2 separate regions of the Homo sapiens genome follow, and region 1 is linked to region 2. Evidence: promoter capture Hi-C in human tissues and cell types (Jung and others, 2019). All regions are on one chromosome and are shown on one strand. The core of a region is centred on a gene start or on the middle of the fragment in contact, and the rest is flanking DNA. Distances in the headings are between cores, read along the strand shown.

Region 1 (6,419 bases), core at 652-3,151, 240 kb after region 2:
AACAGGAAAGAAGAGACATAGAAAGAAAAAAATGTGACCGATAGAGATTAACTTGCCAAATAATGTAACTAACTCAACTATAACAATAATTACGTTAAATTTAAGTAAAATATATCTTTGCTACTTAATTGAAATATTTATTACTTATATGTTATATAGATTATATAAATTTATATAATCTAATTATAATTATAAATTTCTATAATCTATATAACATTTAATATAGAATAATTTATACAGTATATAAATATATATTCTAAGTAATACGTATTTCAATCAAATGGCAAAGATATATTTTATTTAATATACTTACATAAGTAAAAAAAGTATAAGACTGCATAAGAAATATACTTATATATTCTAAGTAATCTATATTTCAATCAAATGGCAAAGATTGTCAGAATGGACTAAAAGCAAGAAGGCTGTCTACAAGCCAGGAAGAAGGCTCTTACCAGTAGTCAAATCTGCCAACACCTTCGTCTTTGACTTCCCAGGCCCCAAATATGTGAGAAATAAATGTCTGCTGTTTAAGTTAGTCTATAGCACTTTGTTACAGAAGCCCAAACTGACTAAGACAGGGCTTATCCCAGGAATTCAAGGCTGGTTTATGATTCAAATACCACTCAATCAAATTTGCCATATTTGTAGAATAAAATACCAAAAATAAGTTTATTCTAACAGAGGCAGTAAAATAATGTGAAAAAGATATGAAACATGTTAGATGTCTTAGAAAACTAGGCAAATATAAAAGAAGCTTGTTCAATATGATAACAAAATATAAACAGCATCTAACATCGTATTTAAATACTCTAATGGTCAATTTTATATGTCAACTTGGCTAGACTATGGTTTACAGTTGTTTGCTCAATACCATTCTAGATATAAGTGTGAAGGTATTTATCATATGTAATTAACATTTAAATCAGTAGACTTTGAGTGAAGCAGACTACTTACACTCCATAATATGGGTGGGTCTCATTCAATTAGTTGAAATTCGTAGGAACTATGACAGAGGTTTCCCAAAGCAAGGAATTGGCCTCAAGGCTTCAGTATTAAATCTTACCTGAATTTCCAGCCTGCTGGCTTGCCCTAGAATTTCAGACTTCCTAGACCCATAATCACATGAGACAATTCCTTAAAATATCAATGTCGCTCTCTCTCTATATATATATATGTACATATATGTGTGTGTGTGTGTGTGTGTGTGTGTTTGTGTGTGCATTTCCTAATAGTTCTCTGGTGTATCTTCTCTTATGCAATAGTGAAATACCAAAAGGTGTTTTTTGTTTTTTTTTTTCTGAGATAAAGAAGCAAATAAGAATGTTTCCTGTTTCTCTTTTTTCATTTAACTGTCTACTTTGGCTCTTAGAAGTGTAATAAGGAAAGTTTTTTTAAAAAGGCATACAGATTGGAAAAGAAGTGGTAAAACTTTCCTTATGCACAGATTATACAATTATCTATTACAGCAAAGTTATTTAATGTGCTTCTATAACAAGAAGCACATTAAATATCTAGTAATGACATTTAAAAAATAAAATGGAGGTGAAATTAACTTGATAAGATACTTTACTTAATGCAATATATCCAAAATACATCTCATCTTAAAATGTTTTAATCATTTTATCTTACTGTCTTTAAAATCTAATGTATATTTTACACTTAGAGTGCATCTCAATTTGGACTAGCCCTATTACAATTGGTCAGCAGCCACATGTGGCTGAATGGCTGCAGTATTGTGCAATTCAGTGTTTGAAAATTCTAACAAGTTTGAAAAACAACTATATAAACTAATAATTAAATTTGGTAAGCTCACTGCATACAAAGTGAACAAGACATTTGCTGGACTGCAAATTCATTTAATTAAGCAAGCTTTCTCTTGAATTCCAACTTGGAGAATTGCAAATGTATGATATCAGTTTCTTTAATTTTATAGTTTGTCAAAATGCGTTTCTTTCTTTCTTTGAAATATATTTCATTTTGGGCCAGTAAGATGAGGGATTTACTAGCTTCCTCTGATTCTGTGTTACATGTTAGTGGCTAACAGATTAATACTTAACCAAGATACTGAGTGGGATAATAGTACTCAATATAAATGAGTCTCATGTCAACTTTCTCCACTAATTATCCACACAAAATCATAAATCACTTAGAATCTTTTACAACTACTCAATAAAACATTCTCTAAGAGATAATATACCAAAAAAGTAGTAATATTTCAGGTTTTAAAAAGAACTATATGTAGAGTATATTTATCAGAGTAAATGGATTCTGTATCTGAACCAATAGGGACAGAAGGTACGTAGAAATCATGAAAAGATACGTAGAAAGCATGAAAAGTCCTGAGAACTATAACTTAATATTTTCATAATGCAGTTACTATATTTTTGATATATGAAATATTTTATATTTGTCTAGATAAAATTTATTCACAAAACACTTATAGAATTAATTTTACTTAAATGAGATAAAAATGTATTGTTCTACATCAGACAAGAAGAAATTCAAAAATGGTAAATTCAACTTTTACGCAACTTATAAGTAACTGAGATAATCTCAAAGAACACTTTCAGATCAGTTTTTTTCAAAGCACCAAATTTGCAATTATTTATTAACATTCCAAAACAAGTGATTTTGTGTTTAAATGGCATATATATATAGAAAATACCCATTTTCTTTTATTGGAATATGTCTGTGCATTTAAAAAGCTAAAATGAATTTTGCTAATTTTGCTTTTTAATTTTTGTGTGTACATAGTAAGTTTATGTATTTATGGGACATATGAGATATGTTGATATAAGAACACAATGTATAATAATCACGTGTATCTTAAATCTGCGAAAGAGAAGTATGCAATATTTCCCAGGCTTATTTTACAAAAATGTTTTTTGGCTAAATCCTTATGAAATTCCATAGGAACACTGTTTATCTTAACAAATGTTTGACAAAATTGCCTACAACATTTTCTTTTATTCTTTAAAGAATTTAGAATACATTATTTATTTATATATATACATATATATACACATATATACATATATATACACACACATATATATACATATATATATTTGAGATGAAGTTTCACTCTTGTTGCCCAGGCTGGAGTACAATGGTGTGATCTCAGCTCACTGCAACCTCTGCCTCGCAGGTTCAAGTGATTCTCCTGCTTCAGCCCCCTGAGTAGCTGGGATTACAGGTATGCGCCACCATGCCTGGCTAATTTTTTTTTTTTTTTTTTTTGTACTTTGAGTAGAGATGGGGTTTTTCCATATTGGTCAGGCTGGTCTCGAACTCCCGACCTCAGTTGATCCGCCCATCTTGGCCTCCCAAAGTGCTAGGATTATAAGCGTGAGCCACCGCGCCCAGCCTATTTATATGTTTTATGGAGACATATATATATATTATATATATTATATATATAATATATATATTATATATATTTTATATATATATATATATTATATATATTATATATATATATATATGCATATACTCATAAAAGTTATAAAGTATCTTCAGTTTTTTAGTTTAAAAATTTGGACCAAATTAACCAAGCAAAATATGTCGGCAGTCTATGTGCAATATTTGCAAAATATACTAAAATAAATAAAAATATTGAGCAAAAAATTTTAGCCAAATTTAAAATAAAATTTCAACAGTTACAATATTTTTATAAATAGACCATTTAACAGATTTTTTTTTTAGTATTTCCATCTGACATTTTTGCTGTTTATGTTGTATTTAGACTTTTTCCCATCTGAGCAGTTCAAAGGCCATTTTTATTAAGCTTCCAAAAAATAATCAGTTTGATTTTCAACACAGACTCCACATAAGTAAGCTGGATATTGATGTTTTACAGTTTATTGATACACTATTTTAGTTCAAAAGAAAATTAATCAGACATAAACATTGTAATTGCTTAATAAAATTCAATTATTCAGGTATCTTGGGAAGGCTATCATGTTTTAATAACTAAATAAATAAAATTAGATCAAGCTTCTTTGACATACTTGGAACTTTTTCCTCCATAGAACTAACCAAAATAGTACATGTAATTATAATGATCCTTTCAGAACAGAAAAAACATTCACAATTTCAGAAAATGGTTTTAAACACATGGGGTTCCATCTGCTACCTGCTCCACTTTTAAAGTGCAAAGCCTATCTCATGGTAGCATTCCTCAAGATGCATTTGGAGTCTGAGACAAACCCACATCTGCCAGCTCTGGAACAAGTAGGTAGATTCCTCTATAGACCATGTATTGTCTTCCCTGGCCATACTACTGTCCCATCTCCACAATAAAATCTGCTTTAATAGCTTGCCACAAATTACTTAATCATACTTATCTTTATTACTTTGGAATAAAGTATCAATATCCAGGAGGCTCCTCTAAAATGCAAATTTATTACCTGAAATATTCACTTAGTGTCCTACTTGACACCACTCAGTATTTTAGACTAGCATATCAATTCTTAAATTTGTTTAGGAGTTGTTTGGACCCTTAAAACTTACAAAGGTTCCCAACACAAGCTTTTGCTTATGTGGTATATAGCTATTTATATTTAATATTCGATATTAAAACTAATAAGTTTGTAAATATTTATGTACTAATCTTAAAATGGCAATAACAAGCCCATATATAAACATAAATGCCATATTTTTAATGAAAAAATATTTTTTCAAAAAAAAGATAAGAGTGTCACTGCTTTACATTTTTGTAAATTTCTTTATGTCTGGATTAAAGAAGACAAATAAATTGTCATATAAGCTCTGATTTCAACCTATTATACTGTTATCACATCATGTTGACTTTAAAAAACACCAAACAATCTGAGTATTGTAAAAATAGTTTTGAATCAATGTATACCCTGGAAGTATTGTCTGGAGACTCCTGGGACCCACCCCCCAGACCGTTCCACAGTGGATGTCAAGTCAAACTGTCTGGTCAAACCCATAACAACGGTCCTGGACAGAAGGACCTGAAGATGTCAGTGGACAGCTGGGAAGATGTAGTGAGAAGAACCGAGGTTTTGAAAAGCTCCTAAGCCAAACTTCACTGATTTTATGAATTTCCTCTGAGCTAGCTCTTTCAAATATATTGTTAATTATTGAGATAAGATGCTTTCTTGACCTTTCTTTTTATTAGATTCATTTCTTATATTGAAATTGAATTACCACACTGAAATTGTGTGGGTATATTTTATCAGTCTTTTTCCTACACTATAATAATACTGGCACAAAAAAACAATACTGACTGTAAAAGATCACAGGTCTTGTGGCATGAATTTATTTTCCCTCCCTTCAATTACATTTATTTTCAGAACACTGCAACCAAGGGGGTGCCATAAAGGTACTGAGCCCAACTATGAATAATTGTTTTTCTCTTAAAAATAATCTACTTTTAACTTCAGAGGGTATAAAGGCTGAGACAAAATAATAATTCAGTCACTGAGATTCAGAAACCACGTACTTCAACATTTTTATTATTTTCCTTTATACTTCCTTTATTTACGGTTCTTTATATAAAAATAAAATATAAATGGAATTATATACTTTACAAGAACATATAAAGAACACAATATGGACAAATTAATTCTATATTTAAATATTGCATTTTTGTACACACAGCTGCATTTGGTTCTATTGAAAGTGATTATTACAGACATACAACCTGATTTTAAAGCACAAAATCTAAGAAATAAAATAATATTTTAATTATACATAAAATATACAGCAATCACATAATTTCACAAATGTAAACAAAATTATATGATACAATATGGCTTTAAAAGGAGCTAGACATAATACTGTGATATAACTGAATCTTTATCTGTATAAAAACTGCAGTATTTTTCTTAAGAAAGGAAGATATTTCCAATTGTGTTATGTCAGAGTGAAGGAACAAAGAAAGAATACAAAGAAGAGTATTTGAGATGTAGTTTTAGGTTAGATACTGACATGTAACTGAGATTGTCCTATTTGCAACTCAAATTAAGTAAACACAAGATGGTTTTCATTTAAAAAAAGGTAAGAACATAAAAATATATTAAAACACAATATCGGGAAGGGTTATTCTATGGAGATAATTGTATACTAAACACAGAATTTCTTCAGTGAATATAATGGCAGTGGTTGAAAGGAGAACTGCTAAGGTCAAATATGGCAAAGGGTTATTGCACAAAATTACACAATGTAGATAGGACTAAGAAGAGCACTTACAGCTTGTTCCTGTATTTCCAGAGATAGACCAAACACTTTAGTGGAAGGTTTTAAATTACCCTTTCAGGATAAACCCAGCCAGTGTGTTGCTGGGTGGGAAAGATCTCTAGCATCCACCAAAATGTGGTCAGGCTAAGTAGTTTCTGAGGTCATTAAGGACCACACAAGAAAGACATTTCTCCCATCTATTGTATTGCACT
Region 2 (7,324 bases), core at 2,781-5,280:
TTGATATTGACTTGAGTTTTCCTCCAATTATTTATCAGATTATTTATCTTCATTATAAATTACATAATGAACACATATAAACAACATTGATACACTGCTCTTAATGTGATAGTAAACAAAATATCATCTGTCATGTTTCCTGAAAAAGAAGTCAATTTTAAAATTAGAATCTTCTGACAATAAGAAGAAATGCAATAAATCTCTTAACACATCAATTAAAGTTTTACTCTTTTCTCATGGAGTTGAGAATTTGTCTTCATTATGGAGTTTCTCCTATCCTTCAAAGTTGAGTCCTAGAAAAAAAAAATGTCTTAAGAAATACTTCCTTTTTTAAAAATTTGGCTTTTGCTTTCTGAATCACGGTATTGGCCAACTCAGCATTTTGATATTTATTGAAAGGCCTTTATAAGGCAATTATTGCCTTTGGCTTGCCTTTCATATTCATTTTACTATAATTTTATGCTTCTCCAAGATCTCGTAATGTAAATCAGTGTAGTGAATATTGCTAGCATTAACATCAAACAAATTTTTGTAGTATAACATTTTCACATTCTTATCAGAAACAATGCTAGTTAGTTGCATTTTAAAATCTTGTTAAACAGTTACAATCATTTAAATGCATTTACCTGAGTAAATATATCTAACAGCTAATGCCTATTCAAGCAAATATATCTCAATAAAAGTGTCTGTAATTCTATTTATTTGTACATTTATTTTATCTCTTCTGTGTTTTTGTAACGAAGCCTGTATTTCATAAAAATCACAAGACTTTGTTTTACTTACTTTCTTTCTCTTCGTTCTTTTCTTTCTCCATGCATGCTTGCTTGCATGTAGTAGTTTCAGTAGGGAGTAGTCACTAGCAATTGATTAACTTCACATCCCAACCTCCAAGCACAGCCCATAGGATTCATAAACTTGTTTGTCTTTCAAAGAACAATGAACCTTAGACCATGCAGACCTCTTTGATGGCAACTAGAAGTCGGATCAGGCCAAAGGACGCAAACAGCTTTGATTATAAGGGCATCTCACCCCTCACATACATACCTTACTCATAAAATCCACCAAATATGTTCAAAGACAGGTAGGATTTGAGAGATTTCTCTCTCCTGCCCTCTTGTTTTGGCCAAATTGAATAAAACTCTCTCTGCTCCTAGGAGCTGAGGTGTCAGTTTTTGGTTTACTATGTATCAGGAACATTAACCTAAATTGGGGGATTCTACAACATTTTGAACCAAGTATATGTGTTTCCCAAAATTGTTTATTACTTCATAATTTTTCTATTCAGACAGTGATGATTGCTAAAAACTAAGGTGTCCCCAAGTGCAACATTGTTTCTAGATCATAAACCCAATGTGAAGCAGAATAGTATGTGTTTTGCTCAATATTTTACCCCTAGTCCCTAGACACTGCTTAGCCTGTAGTCATTAAAGGGACATCAGTGGAAGGACACCAACAACAACAACAACAAAAAAAAAAAAAAAAAAAAAAAAGAGGAAGAAGAAGAAGGAGGAAAGAAGGAAAGCAGAAAGGTGAGGATGAGCCAGGTTAGATATTGGGTTGTCAGTCAATTAATACAATCATGTCTAACACTTCTAAAAACACAGAAAGAAAATTTACAAGTCTCAACATTAGGTACTATTGCTCATTTTCTCTTTGACCTGCATGAAATTAAGAACTTGTTAAAATTCTTGGGATCTTAATTCAGACACAAAATATATAGATTTATCAAGTATATATGAAATACCGTATAGTCTTCCATGCCATCTTCACTACCCCATCCACCTTATCCATCATGTCTTCCACCTCCCAACTCTGTGTGTGCCCTTGCATCCCCTGAATTAAGAACGTGCTATCTCTGGAGGGATATTCACAGGATAGAGGATTCCTTCCAAGCAGGAAACTGAATGTTGCATGAGGAACACTTCTCGCCACTGATACAAAAGTTGAAGGATTGTGGGATGGGTGGAGCAGGGGTGAGGGAATTTTTTTCTTTAATTTTTGTTTAAATTATGCTTTAAGTTCTGGGATACATGTGCAGAACGTGCAGCTTTGTTACATAGGTATAAAGGTGCCATGATGTTTTGCTGCACCCATTAACCCATCATCTACATTAGGTATTTCTCCTAATAGTCTCCCTCCCCTAGATTCCCAGTCCCTCACAGACCCCAGTGTGTGATATTCCCCTCCCTGTGTCTATGTATTCACATTGTTCGACGCCCACTTATGAGTGAGCACATGTGATATTTGGTTTTCTTTTCCTGTGTTAGTTTGCTGAGATGGGAGGTTGACAAAGGGACACGGAAGCCAACTAAAGGAGCTCCCGGTGGCCAAAGCTGGAAACATTGAGTAACAAAGTAATTACCTAAATAATTAATAATTAAATAGTTAAGTAAAATACTTGACAAAATAATTAGTTCAATTATTAAATAATTCATCCCCTGAAGTACTGGAGTGTAAACCAAAGCATACAATAGGTGTCCATAAGTCCATACGGATATAAATAAGTGATTAAATAAACAAACATGTGGGGGAGAATGGGAAAATCCTCCACACAGGAGAACTCCACAGAACTTAGGTAGCTATTCCCCTGCAAGGAGATAAAGCAAAACTTCCCTTTTCTTTACGTATAGGCTACAGGTAGCGACTTCCAGAAAGCACAGTAGAGAAAGAGGTGGGAAAATCACTTTATGGTGGAGAAACCTAATCAACACTGCCCCAGCCCGGTGACCAGGACTAATAGCAGCAGTGATAAGCCGGCTTGATGGTGTGTACTCTAGACAGGATGGGATGGGAATGGCGCTTTCCCGCTGCAATCTTCCTGACAAAAACATATAATTCCAGTCAGATCACAAGGAATACATCACACGAACTTCAGGAGAGGACATCCCACAATATATCTGATCAGTATTCAAAGTGTCAGAGTCATCAAAAACAAGGCAAGTGTGAGAAACCGTCGCAGCCAAGGGGAACCGTGACGAGTTGTAAGGTGGTACCCTGGATGGGGTCTTGGGACAGAAAAGGTATGTGAGGTGAAAGCATAGCAAAACCTCACTTCAACAGGAAATACAACCCAAAAAAGTAATTGGCCCGGCATGGTGGCTTGCGCCTGGGGTCCCAGCGACTCGGGAGGTTGAGCGGGACGGACGGCTTGAGCTCAGGCCTTCCAAACAAGCCTGGGCACATAGCGAAAACTCGTCTCTCCAAAAAAATCCGAAAATTATCCCGATGTGGTGGCGCTCACCTGTAGTCCAGCTACTCCGGAGGCCGAGACAGGAGAATCACTTGAACTGATTCTCCTATCTCAGCCACCCCCCCCCAACCCCCCCAAGTAGCCGCAGCGAGCCGAGATGGCACCGCTGCACTCCAGCCTGGGCTACAGAGCGAGAACCAGTCTCTGTAAAAAACACAAGGATGCAAACCAACCAAATAACCCACTGTGGGATCCCCTCCAGCGTCCTGCTGTGTTTCCCGCTGTCTTCCTCCACCCGTGAGTGCACCCACAGCAATAAAAGCCAGCGGTGTGGGTCTCACACGCATCTCCAGCCCCGTCTCACACGCACCACCTCCGGGCCTGGACTTGGCCTCCCGTCCATTCCCAGAATGTGCCGGGCTCCCTTCCAGTCCGGGCCTCAGCACACTCTCTTCACTCCCCTTCCTCCCTCCCTGCCTCTCCCAACCCGGTTCAGGATGACTAATTTCAAACGTTATGTTCCAGATTTCAGCCCAGATATCCCCGCTTTGGATGCTTTCCTTGACCATGCTCAGATCTAAGCTAATCGCATCTTCCTGTCAGCCGCTTTCAGGGCACCACACCTCATTGTGCTGACACTCAGAGGTCATTATGCAATTTTTTTTCCTCGATGATTAGATTAATCAATCAACCACGGACGTCTAGAAATGGCGGCATCTCAGAAGGGCCCCCATTTGACTGGCAGGGGACTGGCCCAATGCGCCTCGCAAGCCCAGCCAGGCCCGCCCCAGCCGGCCCCCCTCTGACGACGCCTGTCCCTTACGCGACTGCCTTGCTGCCATATAAGAGGGACGGCGCTCGGCCTCCAGCAGTCGGCTTTCTGCTGGGCTCGGAGCCAGAACCTGCTGCGTGCTCCCTCCAGACTCCCTGGCTGCGGGTGGACTACCTCAGAGCTACAGCGGTGAACCTGTGGACACCTCCGACTCCTCGGGCCTCTCTTCGTCGAAGAGTCTCCTAATTTTCAGATCTCCGGAGCCAGCTGTGGGAAGATCAGGTGTGTGTCTGGGGGTCCCGGAGGCGTGGACGGATCTCGGGTGGGTGCAGTTGGGGACAGAATCCTCATTCCCCTAGAAAGGCCACGGCCATCCCCCTGCCTTGTCACCTCTGTCTTCCTAAATCCGTTCTTGCTCTCTTGTTTTTCTCCCCAGCCCCTCCCGCCGATTGCTCATGGAGGAACCAAGGCCTTCGAAGCGACTTCGCTCCATGGCCCCTAATCAAGGTACATCAAACGCCTGCCACTCCTCTCTTTTTAATTTCGTCTGTTCCCCAATTCTTCCCCAATGGTTGACACTCAAACTCAATCAAGCATTCTCTGTTTCACCTTCTCCTAGCCTGCCTCAACCTGGGCTGCTTGTTGGAAGTCAGCTCCCGGGTTCCACATCATCTGGGAAATTCCTTTCCCTCTTCCGAACCGTAATCCCATTTCCCAAATCTGAGATTTGCTGTTGTTGTCGCTGTTTCCTTCTGTTTAGTTTTGTATTACTGTTTCTCCGTAGCAGAGCGAGTCCTCACGCTACGTCTTGATCTATGATAAACCGGTACTTCCACCTTGTTCTTTCCCGGAGGAGTTGGAATTTTCCGGCTGTTGCCACGTTGTTCTCCAAAACTTTTCCCTTCATACGCTGAGTGTCCTAAATCTTTTAATCTTGTCTAGTTTGACAGATGCATAACAATAAAGCATCCACTGAAAGGAAATTCTTTAACATCTTGCTTGTCTGAAACATCTTCATTCTCCCCTCCCAGATTCTTCAGCGAAACTTCGGTTGGACAGGAAATTTTAGGTGGGAAATTCATTTCCCTTGAAATTTCGAAGACATTTTCTGTTATGTTCTAGACTGAACTGCTGCTTTTGAGATGTCTGACTTTTGAGACATGTGGAATCCTAGCCCTTTCCATGTGACTTTTCCTTTCTCTGTCTCCCGCTCTCTAGAATCTGTTAGAATCTTCTCTTTTTCCTCAGCACTCTGAAATTTTCTGGTGAAATGTCTCAGCCACAGCATACCTCTAATTCTCTTATATTTCATCCTTCTTTCCATCATTTTAGGTTTTTGCTTTGTTCTGTGGGAGACCTTCTCAACTTCATTCTCCAACTTCCGTGGAGAGTTTTGTTTCTTCTCTCACAATTTTAACTTCAGAAATCCCTCTTTTCTCTGAGTATTTATTTGTAAAAGTATCCTATAACTGCTTGACGGGTGAAGTTCCTTCTGTCTCTCTCTGCTCACGCTCCGCTTCTCTTTTAGCCTCAGGTGGGCCTCCTCCAGAGCCAGGCTGCTGTGTTGCGGACCCTGAAGGCTCCGTGGAAGCAGATGGGCCCGCACAGCCAGCCCAACCCGCAAAACCCATCGCTTACGTGAAACCCTTCAGACGGCAGCCCCCAGCTCGCCCAGAGTCACCCCCTCCTGCAGAGAGAGGCCGGCGCCGGGGAGGAAGCCGGCGGCCAGGGCGAGGCCGTGGCAGAAGGGCTGGGCCCCGCGGGGACGCTGGCCAGAGACAGGGGGCAGAAGGCTTGATGGCACCGGACGTGCACATCCAACTGGACCACCATGGAGAGCCAGGCCACCAGGGGGAACCGGAAATCACGGAGACCGCAGCCTTCTCCCTTTCTGAAACAGGTCCTCCGCCTGGAACTGTGCAGGAAGGCCCTGGCCCCGACGTGGCGCAACCTGAGCTGGGGTTTCAGGAGCCGCCCGCTGCTCCTGGGCCTCAGGCTGTTGACTGGCAACCCGTCTTGACCCTCTATCCCTGCATCGGGTTTAGGGCTCTGGGTGACTCAGCGGTTTTACAAGTCATTCAAACCCCCCAGGGCACCTACGTGCAAGGGGTCCCAGTGTTCCTCACCGACATTGCGTATTGACCACTATCTGCCACCCACGTTGTTCCCAGCCTCCCTTCCTTCCACCTGGACGTTCCCCCCAGCCCCACTTCTGCTCCACTCCTCCCCCGACTGGACCTGAAGCCTGAGCTTCCCCTGAACTTGGAGTACGCAACTTACAACATGCAAGCTGCCAAACACCCTTTCTGTACAAGGCGATTGGAATGGAACTGTCATGTACAGTGAAAGTACACGTCACGTTTTTCAGCCAAGAAGAAGCCAACCCAGACAACCTGGAAGAAGTGGGATGCAACAAGGATCACTAAGCATGGAAATTAGGAAACTGTATTCTTAAGTCCAGAGAAGTACGATTCTGGAAAAAGGATTGATGACCTAGAATTAAAATTCCAGAAGACACTCATATAGACATGTGGGACATGCGAAAACTCAGAAGGAGCTAGAAGTTACTAAAGTGCTTCTCTAGTGCCTGGAGACGATAGACTGGCTGAATATAAGAGCAATAAAAATCTAGACTGACACATTTTTAAGTCTCAACGTGGGTACCCTTTGGGAACCACTAAATGAATTGGAATAGAAGGTAAAATTTCAAACAGATTGAGGAAAAAGGGGATCAAAGGACATGTGACGAATCAGACAAAAGGTGTTGGGGTGGGGGGGGGGGCGGTTAACGGAAGCAAGGAGAGTGCATGACTCACTGGAACCGCTAAACCAGGAATCAGTAATTTGACGGCAGTGTCCTTGGCTTCCTCCTGGCTTTAATGGGAATATTTTGAATGTTTCACCATTAACCAAGATGTTGGCTGTAGGTGTCTCTTAGATGTTTAAGTTGAGTTAGTTCCCATCTTTTCAGAGTTTGATAAATGTTGTATTATGAACTTTTGTATTTTGTATTTTATTAGGTAGGCTGTTGTTGGCTGGTTTTCACTCCTTTGTAAACGTCCAAATAAAATACAGATAACTTTTTACATCAAAGATTTTTCTCTTGTGTACTCAATCCTTCTAAATAAACCTTTCTCTTCAGACTTATTTTATAGAACAGTTCTTTCACTAAACTTTCACAAATCGCAAATACAAAATGTGTTTACTAAAAGCAGAAAGGAAGGTAGAAAAATGGCTCCAGTCTCTGTTCTCCATTCATATCGCATCTTTCCCCATAGTCACACAAGTCTACACCAACAAACGTGTACATTGAGAGCATCGTTTGTGGCTCGCTTTTACAAACACCTGGCGTGCCATGCGCC

The links. Contacts are between HindIII fragments. The study calls those that stand out against the background at their distance.
Region 1: a fragment that was not itself captured here is called in contact with the fragment with the promoter of PRR20A in region 2 in 4 of the 25 tissues and cell types used here (dorsolateral prefrontal cortex, mesenchymal stem cells, ovary and 1 more).

The regions. Positions count from the first base shown.
Region 1 is chr13:57,382,166-57,388,584 of GRCh38, forward strand. No RefSeq gene overlaps it. Among named protein-coding and RNA genes, the nearest start is that of PRR20E, 220 kb to the left of the region's middle. The HindIII fragment of the contact is 3,980 bases long and covers 1-3,891 here.
Region 2 is chr13:57,136,888-57,144,211 of GRCh38, forward strand. It overlaps PRR20A (proline rich 20A), which reads left to right and starts at 4,031. Exons shown (of 3, transcript NM_198441.2): 1 at 4,031-4,244; 2 at 4,399-4,469; 3 at 5,491-7,052. The coding sequence starts at 4,418. The coding sequence ends at 6,104. It overlaps LOC124903235 (a long non-coding RNA gene), which reads right to left and starts at 851. Exons shown (of 2, transcript XR_007063920.1): 1 at 784-851; 2 at 200-293. The HindIII fragment of the contact is 47,953 bases long and covers 1-7,324 here.